Regions from separate parts of the Homo sapiens genome. Here region 2 is linked to region 1. Evidence: promoter capture Hi-C in human tissues and cell types (Jung and others, 2019). All regions are on one chromosome and are shown on one strand. The core of a region is centred on a gene start or on the middle of the fragment in contact, and the rest is flanking DNA. Distances in the headings are between cores, read along the strand shown. Region 1 holds the start of NFKB2 (nuclear factor kappa B subunit 2). Region 2 overlaps GBF1 (golgi brefeldin A resistant guanine nucleotide exchange factor 1).

What was found. The method cuts DNA at HindIII sites, captures the fragments that hold promoters and counts their contacts. A contact is called where the count stands out against the background at its distance.
Region 2: a contact is called between a fragment that was not itself captured here and the fragment with the promoter of NFKB2 in region 1, in 4 of the 25 tissues and cell types used here (liver, lymphoblastoid cells, mesenchymal stem cells and 1 more).

Annotation. Positions count from the first base shown.
Region 1 is chr10:102,394,344-102,400,479 of GRCh38, reverse strand. NFKB2 (nuclear factor kappa B subunit 2) reads right to left here and starts at 4,775. Exons shown (of 23, transcript NM_001322934.2): 1 at 4,684-4,775; 2 at 4,500-4,592; 3 at 4,146-4,227; 4 at 3,991-4,031; 5 at 3,657-3,755; 6 at 3,425-3,576; 7 at 3,072-3,178; 8 at 2,795-2,953; 9 at 2,395-2,499; 10 at 2,183-2,268; 11 at 1,957-2,095; 12 at 1,616-1,741; 13 at 983-1,192; 14 at 762-903; 2 more. The coding sequence starts at 4,520. RefSeq lists silencers at 880-1,199, 6,110-6,136 and enhancers at 2,414-2,708, 4,180-4,299, 4,710-4,759, 5,810-6,099. The HindIII fragment of the contact is 8,929 bases long and covers 2,464-6,136 here.
Region 2 is chr10:102,261,790-102,268,220 of GRCh38, reverse strand. The region is part of intron 3 of GBF1 (golgi brefeldin A resistant guanine nucleotide exchange factor 1); the gene reads right to left. Among named protein-coding and RNA genes, the nearest start is that of GBF1, 19 kb to the right of the region's middle. The HindIII fragment of the contact is 6,652 bases long and covers 1-5,572 here.

The sequences.
Region 1 (6,136 bases), core at 3,526-6,025:
GCATATGCAACAGCTGGGGCACAGCAGGAGCTCCACTCTGAAGCAGTGCACGCAGCAGCTCAGGAGCACCAGCGCCTGCCCGCAGCGCCAGATGCATGGCTGAGTCTCCATGCCGATCCAGCAGAGCTGGGTCTGCACCTACCCGCAGCAGAAAGCTCACCACACTCGTCTGCCCCGTGATCACCGCCAGGTGCAGGGGCGTCTGGGGATGAAAGCAGGGTGAGCCAGGCCCGAGACCCACTTGCCTTCCAACCCCTCCCACCTCCCCAGTAGGCGCCCCCGCACCTGGTGCAGGTGGTTGGTGAGGTTGACAACGCCGAGGTCCTGGGCGTGGTGGATGACATAGACTATCTGCTCAATGACACTGGTCTGCCCGTGGATGATGGCTAGGTGCAGTGGTCTGGGGGTTGGGGAGCGAGAGTCTGGCCCAGCCACTCAGAGCATCCTTCGCTTTCAAGGCCCCACCGCCCTCATAGTCTCCCTCGCTGGGGCCCATGGAACCCAGCACGTGGCCCAGGGCATCGCTGTGCCTGCACTTAACGTTTCGCAGCACCTTTTGAGGTAGGTAAGTGCTATGACTGTACCCCTTGCACGGTCGACCAAACTGAAGTTTGGAGAGACCAAGCAGCTTGAACAGAGCTTGTGAACACCGAGGCCGGACTTGAAGCCTGGCGTGTCCGAAAACTGCAGAGCCCGCCTCCGTGCCGGTCCCTTTCCTGCCCCCACCCCGCGCCTCGTCCGCCAGGCCCTCTGTTGCCTACGTGTCTCCGTTCTCGTCCTGCGCCGTCAGCAGGTGGCGCTGTCCCGCCAGCAGCGCGCGCGCGTCCGCGGTGACGCCGTAGTCGAGTAGGGCTCGGGCGCTGCGCTGCGCCAGGCCGAACAGGCGCGCGTTGTACTCTCGAGCTACGGGCCACAGAGGGCGTGGGTCAGGGCTAGGTCCTCAGCCCCGGCGCCCCGACCGCCCGTGCCCCGGAGTCCATACCTCGCTGCAGCATCTCCGGGGCCTGCGGCTCGCACTGGGGGGTCCTGGAGGGGGCGCTTGGCTCCGCGGCTTCCTCCCCGGAGTCCCTGCTGGGCACCGTGGCGGCCATCTGCGCCCCGCCCCCGCCTCCCGGGTAGCAGCCCATGGGGCCCGCGCCGGACTGGTAGGGGCTGTAGGCCAGGGAGGAGGGGAAGAAACCGAGGCTGCCACCTGTGGATACAGGCAGGGCTGTGGGAAGCGGGCACCAGCCATGACTCTCCCAGATTTTTTTTTTTTTTTTTTGAGACGGAGTTTCGCTCTTATTGCCCAGCCTGGAGTGCAGTGGTGTGATCTCAGCTTACTGCAACCTCTTGTCTCCCAGGGTTCAAGCGATTCTCCTGCCTCAGCCTCCCGAGTAGCTGGGATTACAGGCGCCTGCCACCATGCCCAGCTAATGTTTGTATTTTTAGTAGAGACGAGGTTTCACGCTGTTGGCCAAGCTGGTCTTGAACTCCTGATCTCAGGTAATCTGCCTGCCTTGGCCTCCCAAAGGGCTGGATTACAGGCGTGAGCCACCACGCCCGGCCTCCCCCAGATTTTTTTCCTCCACAGCTTCTCTTACCTTTACCCCTCCCTCCATCAGTACCCCCTCACCTCCTCCAGCTCCTCCGTAGCCCCCGGCTGCACCCCCAGAGCCTCCACCCATGTGGGAGCCACCCCCGAAGGGCTGGGAGAAGGTGGGCAAGGCCTTCCTCCGCTTCCGCTGCACCTCTTCCTTGTCTGGGGGCAGAGGAAAATGAGATTGAGCCCAGTTATTGTGTCATGCCTCAGGGGCCCTTCCCAGAAGAGCCCTCAGGGCCGGCTCCTAGGAAGCACCTCCTGGGACCCTCGCACTTCTGACTTGGCTCATGCATCCCCACATCTAGCTCTTGGGACCTTCTTCTAGCCCAGCCTGGCCCCCCGCCAGCACCCTGAGGTCCTCAGCCCAGCTCCACCTTCCACCAGAGGGTAATAGGTGAACTGTTTGGAATCAGACACGTCCCCTCCTCGCTTGCGTTTCAGTTGCAGAAACACTGTTACAGGCCGCTCAATCTTCATCTTGTGATAGGGGGGTGTCCGGAACACAATGGCATACTGGGGGGTGCAGGGAGACACAGGGTGTCAGTGAGTCCTTAGCCTAATTTAGCCCCCAGCCCGGGCCCGGGCCCTAGCCCTGGGTACCTGTTTATGCACATCTGTGGGAGAGAAGTCCCCAAAGGCCTGCCATCCATTCTCATCATCCTCATAGAACCGAACCTCAATGTCATCTACAAGGAAAACGGAAGCTTGGCCACAGCTCCCGGTGGAATCTCTGGGGCCATTTACCCTAGAGCTTCCCTGGCCCCAGTCTTATACTCGATGTCCTTGGTGCCCAAAGTGGGCTCCAGTCTCACCTTTCTGCACCTTGTCACAAAGCAGATAAACTTCATCTCCACCCCGCACAGAGCCTGCTGTCTTGTCCATTCGAGAAATCTTCAGGTTTGATGCCCCCGGAGATTCTATGGAGTGGGATATGGATTAGTTGAGATGATGCAATAGCCAAGGCCACATTTAAGAAGCTGGGGGCTTTGTATTCCTTATCTCAGCAACCCCTGGAGCTGCAGGAAACACCCAATATACACATTTACTAAAGACAGAAGCTTCGGGGGGGAAATGACTTGCTCAGGATCACTCAGCTCATATGTGGCAGGGCCAGGTTCTGAAACCTGGGTCTGTTTGACTGCACAGCTTGAGGTCACCCCTCATGCCACCTCTGCCACCAGGCCTGGCACCCCAGGCAATCAGGATACTCACTGCTGTCATGGATGGGCTGGGAGATGACTGGCTTCAGGGGCAGGGAGAAGGAGCCATCACTGGCTCTAAGGAAGGCAGAGAAGCGCAGCCGCACTATACTCAGATCCATCACCTTCTTCAGTTCTTTGGCCTCTTGCTCCAGCTCCCGCTGCTCGGCCTCTGGGCAGTAGGTACATGTGTGACCCCTGGGCTTCTCCCTCCCTGCTCCTTCCATGAGCACCTCCCATGACCCACCCACCCCCTGCACCCATACCCGACCCACCCCCTGCACCCATACCCGTAAGGCCCTGGGGCCTAGAGCGGAGCCGCTGCCTCTGAAGTTTTTGTATCATAGTCCCCATCATGTTCTTCTTAGTCACATGCAGGACACCCAGGTTGTTAAATCTGAGAAGAGAGAATCGGAGGCCTTTGGCCATGCAGTTCTTTCTTCCTGAGGCACCTTTCCCATTGCCAGGGCTCAGCTCAGCCTTACTTCCTCAAGGAAGCCATTGGAGTTTCTACTTAGGCCCTTGGGTTTGGGGCCAACCTACATCTTTCCCCTTGGTCAGATGCTAAGCTCATGGAGGTGGGCTGGGGCCTGGGACTGGCAGACGGGCATACCAGTGGGGGCCAGGCGTAGAGGGCACCTACTGGGCAGTCATGTCCTTGGGCCCCACAGAAACGGCGCAGATCCCCAGCTCCGAGCATTGCTTGCCCACCAGACTGTGGGCATGAGCACGAGGTGGGTCACTGTGTGTTACCAGGTCCACCTCGATCTTGGCTGGTCCCTCGTAGTTACAGATCTAGGAGAGGCAGGGACTGTCAGTCAGGGCCTTGGGCATGCTGTCCACTTAGCCCACCCTCCAGCACCATCCTGGCTCACCTTGACAGTGGGATAGGTCTTTCGGCCCTTCTCACTGGAGGCACCGGGCAGTCCTCCATGGGAGGGGCCTTCACAGCCATATCGAAATCGGAAGCCTCTCTGAAGGTCCAAGGGCATAGTAGCATTGTGATCAGGGAAGACCACCCAGGCCAGCAGTGACCGCAGTGCCTGGTAGTAGCCCTGAACCAAACTACAGCACTCTGATCAGCAGCAGTGACCATCCAATCCCCTGTGGCCTCCTTCGGCAATGGCTCCTCCATGGCCAGCCAGCTACCACTACCCCATTTGTCCCCAAAGCTGAAGCCATTCCACACCCTCCCTTTTGCTCACTCACCTGCTTAGGCTGTTCCACGATCACCAGGTAGGGGCCATCAGCTGGGGACAGAGAGACCTTGCTGAGCCACGATCTCCCAGCCCCTCCCCCAGAGAGAGGGCACATGCTCTCCCTCCCCCGCTTTAGGACTAGGGGAGGTTAGTGAACTTGCTGACCTGTTTCTGGGGCTGGCTCCTTGGGTTCCACAATGGAGGAGTTCAATTTGAAATCATCATATTCAATAATACCATCCAGACCCTGGTTTGGAGACAGACTGGGGGTGGCATCCGACTCTCAGCACCCCCCACAGCCCCACCTCCCATCTCCAAGTCTTCAGTGGTCACTCCCCCCTCCTCCTCAGACCCAAGAGAAAGCTCCTTTTGGAGGCAGAGTTGCAGACAGATGGACAGACTGGCAGGCTGAGAGCATCTGCGAGCATACAGGTGTAAGGCAGCAGAGGGGGCTCGGGCAGACAGGTGGACAGACACGAGGGGCAGCCGGCCGGGTCAGGGGCAGGCGGCATGACTCACTGGGTTGTAGCAACTCTCCATGTCTCTGGGCTAGGCCCGGCTCTGTCTAGTGGCTCCGGCCAGGTTCTGCTTCCCAGAATTTTAGACGCCCGCCTAAAGTTGGGAGGAGTGGCGTGGGGGAGGGGGTCAGATCTAAATGGGGGTGGGCGGGAGATGGGGGCCCAGATTTGGGGGAGGGTCCGACCTCCTCCAGCCGCCTGTCCGGGTGTGGCGGGTGAGATCCGGTGGAGAGCGAGATCCGGAGTTGGGCTTGGCCGGGGAAGGGGCAGGAAAGTTAGAGCAGCTTAGGAAAGTCCCGAAAATACCAAGGGGAGGCGGGGCCGGAGGGGGCGGGCCTGGAAATGACGCCACTGGCCCCGCCCTCGCGACGGGAGGGGCGGGAGGCCCTCGACAGTCTACGGGCTCCCGCTGCTTTTCAGCGGGCAGAGGTCTAGGAGAATCCGGGAAGCCCCGGTGGGGGTTAAGCCCCCTCCTCCCTCCAGGGCAGGGAACAGGAGGGTCTTTCACGGCCGGGAGGAGGCTGGCAGTCTGGGGCCAAGTCCGCCTCCCGCTCCCCTCCCCCGGTCTGGAGCAACCTTGGGATTTTCTGCCAGGAGGGAGGCCACGGCTGATAAACCCCGGGGGCTTTTGGGGGGACATTCCTGCTGTCGGACGGCCTCCCCTTCGAACAGCCTGTAGGCGGGGGCTCTTTCCTGTGGGAGGCCCCGGGGTTCTGCCCCGAGAACGCGATTCTGGGGCTGCGGGAAAAGTGTCTCCTCCTCGGAGTGGGCTCTTTTCTCTCTCTCCCAAACCTCACAACAGCAGCTGGTCCCACACCGCACCGGTTCTGGGCGCGCAGGCGACAGGGAGATCTCTGCACGCTCCCCCCCCCCCCCCCCCACCTAATACAAGAGTGTGTCTCCATCACAGCTCCACAAGTGTGTTTCGGCTGTAGTGCTTGGTTGCATGTTGTGTGTCCATGGCGTCAACATGAGTGTGCAAGCGAGCATGTGTGTAGATAGGTGAATCCCGAGCTTCTCAGTGTGGGTGTGTGTCAGCGCCTGTCTTGATGTACGGACACGGGTGAGCGTATCTTGAGTTTGTGCGTGAAGGGTGTGGGTGCAGGCACCAGTGCACCGGTGGGCACGTCTCCGTGTGCATGTGTGTGCGAGTGCGACTGCACGGACGCTGCCGTGTGTGCGCCAGCACAGGTACAGGTGTACGTACGGGTCCGCGTATCTTTGTACAACGGTGTCGACGTGGATCCGAGTGTCGTCGCCTGCGCGCCCTTTCCGGCTGTGTGCAGCTGCTGCTCTCCAGCCCCAGGCGCTGTCCGCTAAAGGCCCTCCTCCCTCTTTTCTCTTGTCCCGGCCACCCAGGGGTCTGAATCCAGCCACTCACCGTGGCGGCGGCTCTGGTTGCGGCTTCTCTCCGCGCCCGACCCACCTGGGACCGGTCGCGACACCTCGCCTGCCAGCAGGGCTCAGGGCCGGGAAAGCCCCTTCTCGGCCCCCCGGAGGGGGGAATTCCCATGACGTTTCCGTGCGTCACGCCTCGCGCCCTTTTTCATTGGCTGAAAGTTTAACTCTGGACTGGCGCAGCCAACCCGGAGCGACTCGGGCGCGCCCCTGAGAGGGGACAGGCTCACTCAGGGCGGG
Region 2 (6,431 bases), core at 997-3,496, 130 kb after region 1:
AGATTATGCAGAGCTGTTTCTTCTCAAGAGTCTTCATTTCCTAACCTTGAGTACAAACAAATGTTTGGAAGAACTTCTTGGTTTAAAAGTGTCAAATGAAGAGCATTCATAAATCATCTGGGGAAGGCCCCAGTAAAAAGAAATGGCAAAATCAAGTCATCAAAATATAGGCCTCTTGGAGCTACCCTTTTAATATGAATAGTCCCTGGGGAAAAAAAGAATCACAGTACCTTTATTCACTCTAACTGTGCTGAAATGTCTACAAGTCTGTGGCCACTCAAGTTACAGAGATTCTAAGGTGCCAAAGTCAGTCTGACTCAAATTCAAGTCACATTCTAATGTATTACTCAACTATAGTTTTATATTATAAACCAAGAAAGTAAAACAGGGCACAGGAAATGGATACTTTTAAGTGTGCCCATTGCCTTTCCTAACACTCAGCCCTTCACAAAATTTGTCTGCCAAATTTTATCACATTTGGTTCTTTTAGTTCCTACTTAGGCCTTGAACAATTCACAAGCTCAATTCCAAGTGGAACAAAAGCTGATGACCCATTCAACCTTCTTCTCATGCTGATTAATAATGATATATTACTTTACTCCCTAAACTATAGACCCCTGTAGGAAAAAATAAAAGTAGGCACTTAATCAATAGGACTCCAGCAAATTTTTTTCATATAACATACTCGCTTTTGTTGTTGTTGTTGTTGTTGTTGTTGAGATGGAGTCTTGATCTGCCACCCAGGCTGGAGTGCAGTGGCACGATCTCAGCTCACTGCAATCTCACCTCCTGGGTTCAAGCAATTCACCTGCTTCAGCCTCCTGAGTAGCTGGGACTACAGGCATGCGCCACCGCACCTGGCTAATTTTTGTATTTTTAGTAGAGACAGGGTTTCACCATGTTGGCCAGGCTGGTCTCGAACTGCTGACCTCAAGTCATCCACCCGCCTTAGCCTCCCAAAGTGCTGGGATTACAGGTGTGAGCCACCATGCCTGGCACATATAATATACTCTTATTCAATCTTTTTCCTGACAATGACTACTAAAATCTCTTTTCTCTACACCTCCCCATTTTCCAAATGAAACAGATTAAACTTGAGGTATCAGGCATTCTCAAACAGTTTCTTTTCTACCTAAGCGGCTACTGCTAAGAGGCCCAGGCCAGACAGGTGTTAAGTCATAGTTCCTCCCAAGTTGGCTTCCAGACTCTGTTTAAATGTTCTCTGCAAACCTCTGGAGGTTAGATGGACTCAAACCTCCTAGCTCAGACTCTGAATTCACAAAGCTTGAGACAGACAGTACCCTACAGGTGTGTTTGTCCAGGATAAACTATACTTAAATAAACTCCTGACACATCCACTTTCTCCTGGCACGTGCTTCTCCCTCTTAAACTCAAGCACGCCATAACCTGCTGTCCCAGTAAGCTCTGTAAAGAAATATCCTATCCCCCAGAATTACGCTATGCAACCCACCAATGTCTTTGGGAATAGCTAAACTCTGGCCATAACAGCTTTACATGTGAAAGCCAAATAAGCAAATATGAGCTATTGTTTTTACTTATTTCTTTGGCTTGTTCCTTAAGGAAAGAGCAGGAATAAGAAAAGCTGGCAGCAGATTGCTCTCACTCATGGTCATCCATTCCATGCCTGATAGGGACCATATAGCATAAAGTAGAGGCTACAAAATGTTAGCTTTGGAATGATCAGCTAGAGTCATTAGTCCTGTCAAACCAGTGGCTATGAGGGCAGGAAGTCTGACTGATTGTTTACCATTACAGACCCACTTCCTAAGTACCTAAGAAAAATGCCTGGCACATACCAGATAGTCAATAAATATCAGTTAGAAGCAACTCAATAAGCTAGGCCCTGAAGGAATCCAAATCTTGGAGAATCCCCAAAAGAAAAGGTCTAAGAAGCTAGAACAATGTTATAGTTAATATGGGTACCTATACTGGGCCTCAAGACCACCTTAGTTTTTTTTTTTGAGACAGAGTATCGCTCTGTCACCCAGGCTGGAGTGCAGTGGCACGATCTCGGCTCACTGCAAGCTGCGCCTCCCAGGTTCAGGCCATTCTCCTGCCTCAGCCTCCCGAGTAGCTGGGACTACAGGCGCCTGCCACCATGCCCGACTAATTTTTTGTATTTTTTTAGTAGAGACGGGGTTTCACCGTGTTCGCCAGGATGGTCTCAATCTCCTGACCTCGTGATCTGCCCGCCTCGGCCTCCCAAAGTGCTGGGATTACAGGCGTGAGCCACCGCACCCGGCCCTCCACCTTAGTCTTACACTGAGAACCCCAGTCCTGATAACCAAAACTGGACATTAGGTCCTCAGAGCTAAAAAGACCTGGGACTAAATCTCCAAAGGCAAACTCCTCACCACCACACCCTCACACGCACATAGACACACGCACACCCTAAGAAGTCTTCCTCAAGCCCTGGCCCTGAAGGCTTTAAAGTAAGTCATTAAAAGATGATCCCATAAGAGAAGATTTTGGTTGTGATACTTTCTTTCATTCATTCATTCATTCATTCATTCATTGAAAGGGTCTCACTCTTGTCACTCAGGCTAGAGTACAGTGGCGCAATCATGGGTCACTGTAACCTCGAACTCCTGGGCTCAAGTGATCCTCTCGCCTCAGCCTAAGTAGCTGGAACTACAGTTGTACGCCACCATACCCAACTAATTTTTTTTATTTTTATTTTTGTAGAGATGGGGGGAATCTTGGTATGTTGCCCATGCTGGTCTCGAACTCCCAGCCTCAAGTAATCCTGCTGTCTTGGCCACCCAAAGTGCTAGATTACAGATGTGGGTCACTGCACCTAGCCTGGTTGTGATACTTTTAGACTGTTCCTCTCCTGTTTTAAACCAAAAATTTTCTGGAAAAGAATCTCTTTGTAATGATCTAAGTTTAAAGACCAAGGACAAAGACAGACTATATCTGGAGGCAAATGACTACAACCAAACACCACAACTCACAACTGACTATAGCCCTTTCCATAAAGCTATACTGGATGAAGGGAACTAAGGCTTGCAAGAATTTATCTAGTCTGGGAACAAAGAGATCAAAGACCACAGACCATATTGGCTAGAAGCATTCCCATAAACTGTCTACTCTTGTCAGATCTAAAACCAAGAGCAATATCAAGTATCCTGATATTTCACTTTCCCTTCCATGCCCCATCCCATGCCACAGATCCTACCACAAGGTCTAGCTGCGAGACTGAAGATAACTCCCATATGCAAGAGCCCCAAAAGATTCTTAGAAGAATAAAAGGAAATGTGTCTTTGGAATCTAAACCCATGGCAGGGCTTGGGCAGATGTAAGAGAGAGGCAGTGGCCCTTCTGCCCCTAAGGCCAGGACACCCCAGCCCTGCAGGCAGCACAGAGTTAACTACCCACCCGCTCTGAGAAGCACAAAGGTACATCACTGCAACATGCCTAACATTTACATTGCCTCTCTCTGCTCATTAAACAGGTTTTGGTTAAATAATGAACAAACTGTATTACAGACTCCAATGAGAATTCCAAAATTATAAATCAACTGGGAAAGCCCAAAGGGGCAGACAGACAGGGAGGGGGGAGAAGGATAATATTGACTAATATAAAGGGCGCAGCTTGACAGTGGATATTCCTGCCACACCTGATCAAACACACTCCGTGGGGGGAGGGGAAAGAGAGCAAGAGAGGGAAGATGGGACAAGACAGCCTGAAATTTGCATCCGGAAAAGATTAAAACGGATTCTTTGGGGATAGAGAAAATACATAATATATATTACTATAAATGCAAAACTGTACTAAAAGCTAACTCAAATGTCAAAGATTACAGTTTGAATAAATTTAAATATAAAAGCCATGTGCTTCCTTGAGTTAATGAGAGAGACATAAAAGGACAAACTGGGCCAGAAGCTGAACAGAGCCTTATGCTGCCTTTGCTGGGTAATGGGTCCAAAGCACAGCAGTGACTACAGAGACTTCCCTCCACAGTTCTGAGACCTGAGAAAAAACTGGCAAATCCATCACTTCTGCAGCCTACATTTGCCTCCTTTATAAACTGAGATATGATTCACATACTATAAAATTATCCTTTTCAAGTATACAATTCAGTGGTTTCTTGTATACTCACAAAGTTGTGCAACCATCGCTACTATCTAATTCTAGAACATTTTCATTACCCCAAAAAGGAACCCTGTAGCCATTAGCAGTCACTCTCCATACCCCCTCCCAGCCCCTGGTAACCACACATCTGTTTTAACTCCTTCAGAATAATCTAAAAGGAGTCCTGAGAGGACTTCAAGACCAAATGAGGGACAGCAGTCAAGTCTCTCTCACTGGTGGTAAGCTAAAGCTTTATCCAAAGTAACAGTATGCAAACTTTGCTCTTGGACACCCTTTTTCTTCCAAGAGCAACCCTCTTTTCAAATTTGGTATTATTAGAATATCTTATTACTCTAAATGCTATAGACCTTGTAGTCATCATACAGTTTAGGCAAATACTGACTGTAAATGTGGTCCAATGACATACATCTGTGAGAAAAACTAGTATGGACTTAGCCAACCTTACTGGAGAAAAGGACTTATTTCCTTCACAATAATGAGATAATATTCCTGGAGGAGTAGTGTAGGTAGTACTTATACATTTTAAAGATTCTTTCTACAAAAAGAGAAAAAAAAATCATTTTGGTTTACTGACAATGTCCAATGAACCACCCATTTCCAACAGTGATAGTCTTACCAATCAAGCCAGCAGAAAGCCTAGAAAAATGCAAACAGAAACCCTTTGCAAAAAAGGACCATGTCCAAGTCAGTTTCATGAGAAACTGGGTAGAAGTCCTAGAATTCCTGCTATCCCTCCTCCAATCTAAGTGGTACACCTTAACTGGTCATCTAACACAAGCACATTCCCTTCAGTTTTCTCTCCAAGTTAAAAACCCTTTCCCAGCCTCCTACCATTAATAAGCTTCCAGGAAAGCAGTCCTCCTGACACTGCCAATCAGAAAAATCTGTTTGTTTCCGTAAAAGAAACAAGAAATTAGTCATGGGTTGCAGAGTCCAGGACCACAGGGACAGCTGACCCATAAACCTGCTCCTGGGAGCCGGCACTGTGTGTGGGGTCAGAAGCAATATGAAGACCATAAATGCTCTATTTTAGGTCTATTCTGTCATTTTCTCAGGCAGGTAATATGCTAAAAACCAAGAACAATGTAGCAACCTTGGCAGGCACCATTTCAAGACATGCCACAGCTGTTGGCCTTGGAAAACACTACTCCCTTCCCTCTCACTCCAGGGGAAAGCTTAGCAACACCCAGAGATGTTCCTACCACCAATGAGAGAAATGGCTCCTGAACACACTCTGGTTTTACTAGTTCCAAGAGCAGATAATCTGGCTGGATTTCTGACCCAAGGACGTAAGGAAATCAGGCGTCAGACTCAACTTTGATAGCTCTTAAATAGTCTACAATTCCTAGACTGCATCATTCACCACAGGTATGGTCTCTGAGGTAAAATCTTGGGACATGTTAGCATGAAGAAAATAAGCATGGGATCTGGATTCAGTAGCAGGCAGGAAATGTGGCTCTGTCAGGATAGCAGCACCACCTCAGCTCCTCAAGGTTTGCAGAATGACCAAAAGGCCTACAAGGCCAGGGTGATCTCAGTCATTTTAGGGTATTCCCAGTCACTTATAACAACAATCCTTCACTGTGTATAAGATGTTTACCAAGTGTTTCCAATTATATTAACTTGTTTGATCCTCTTAATATCTCTTAAGAAGACAGTACTCTGAATTCAAAACCAAACAAAAAGAACTGTAAATCTCCATTCATTATATTTCCTTTCTAATTGGGATATGTAAGCTTTATCTGTAAAATTAAAAAAAAAAATCTGTGCAAGTAGCCAACATTCTAAAGCACTCAAGTACCAGTCGGTACAGGCCATAAAATAAGAACATGCCACCTAGTAGCAGCATTTGCCCTGCTAACTAGTCAACAATTGCCTCCTCTATACTTGATCCTTCTTAGCTAACATTTCCAAGCTGTTTCAATTGAGTGAAATTTGCTCCTTTAAAGAAAATATGGTTGGGAGGCCAAGGTGGGCGGATCACTTGAGGTCAGAAGTTCAACACCAGCCTGGCCAAAACGGTGAAACATCATCTCTACTAAAAATACAAAAATTAGCCAGGCATAGTGGCACACGCCTATAATCCCAGTTACTCAGGAGGCTGAGGCAGAAGACTTGCTTGAACCCAAGAAGCAGAAGTTACAGTGAGCTGAGATCACGCCACTGCACAAAAAGAAAATATGGGCTGAGCACGGTGGCTCACGTCTGTAATCCTAGCACTTTAGGAGGCCAAGGCAAGTGGATCATCTGAGGTCAGGAGTCTGAGACTAGCCTGGCCAACATGGTGAAACTCCGTCTCTAGTAAAAATACAAAA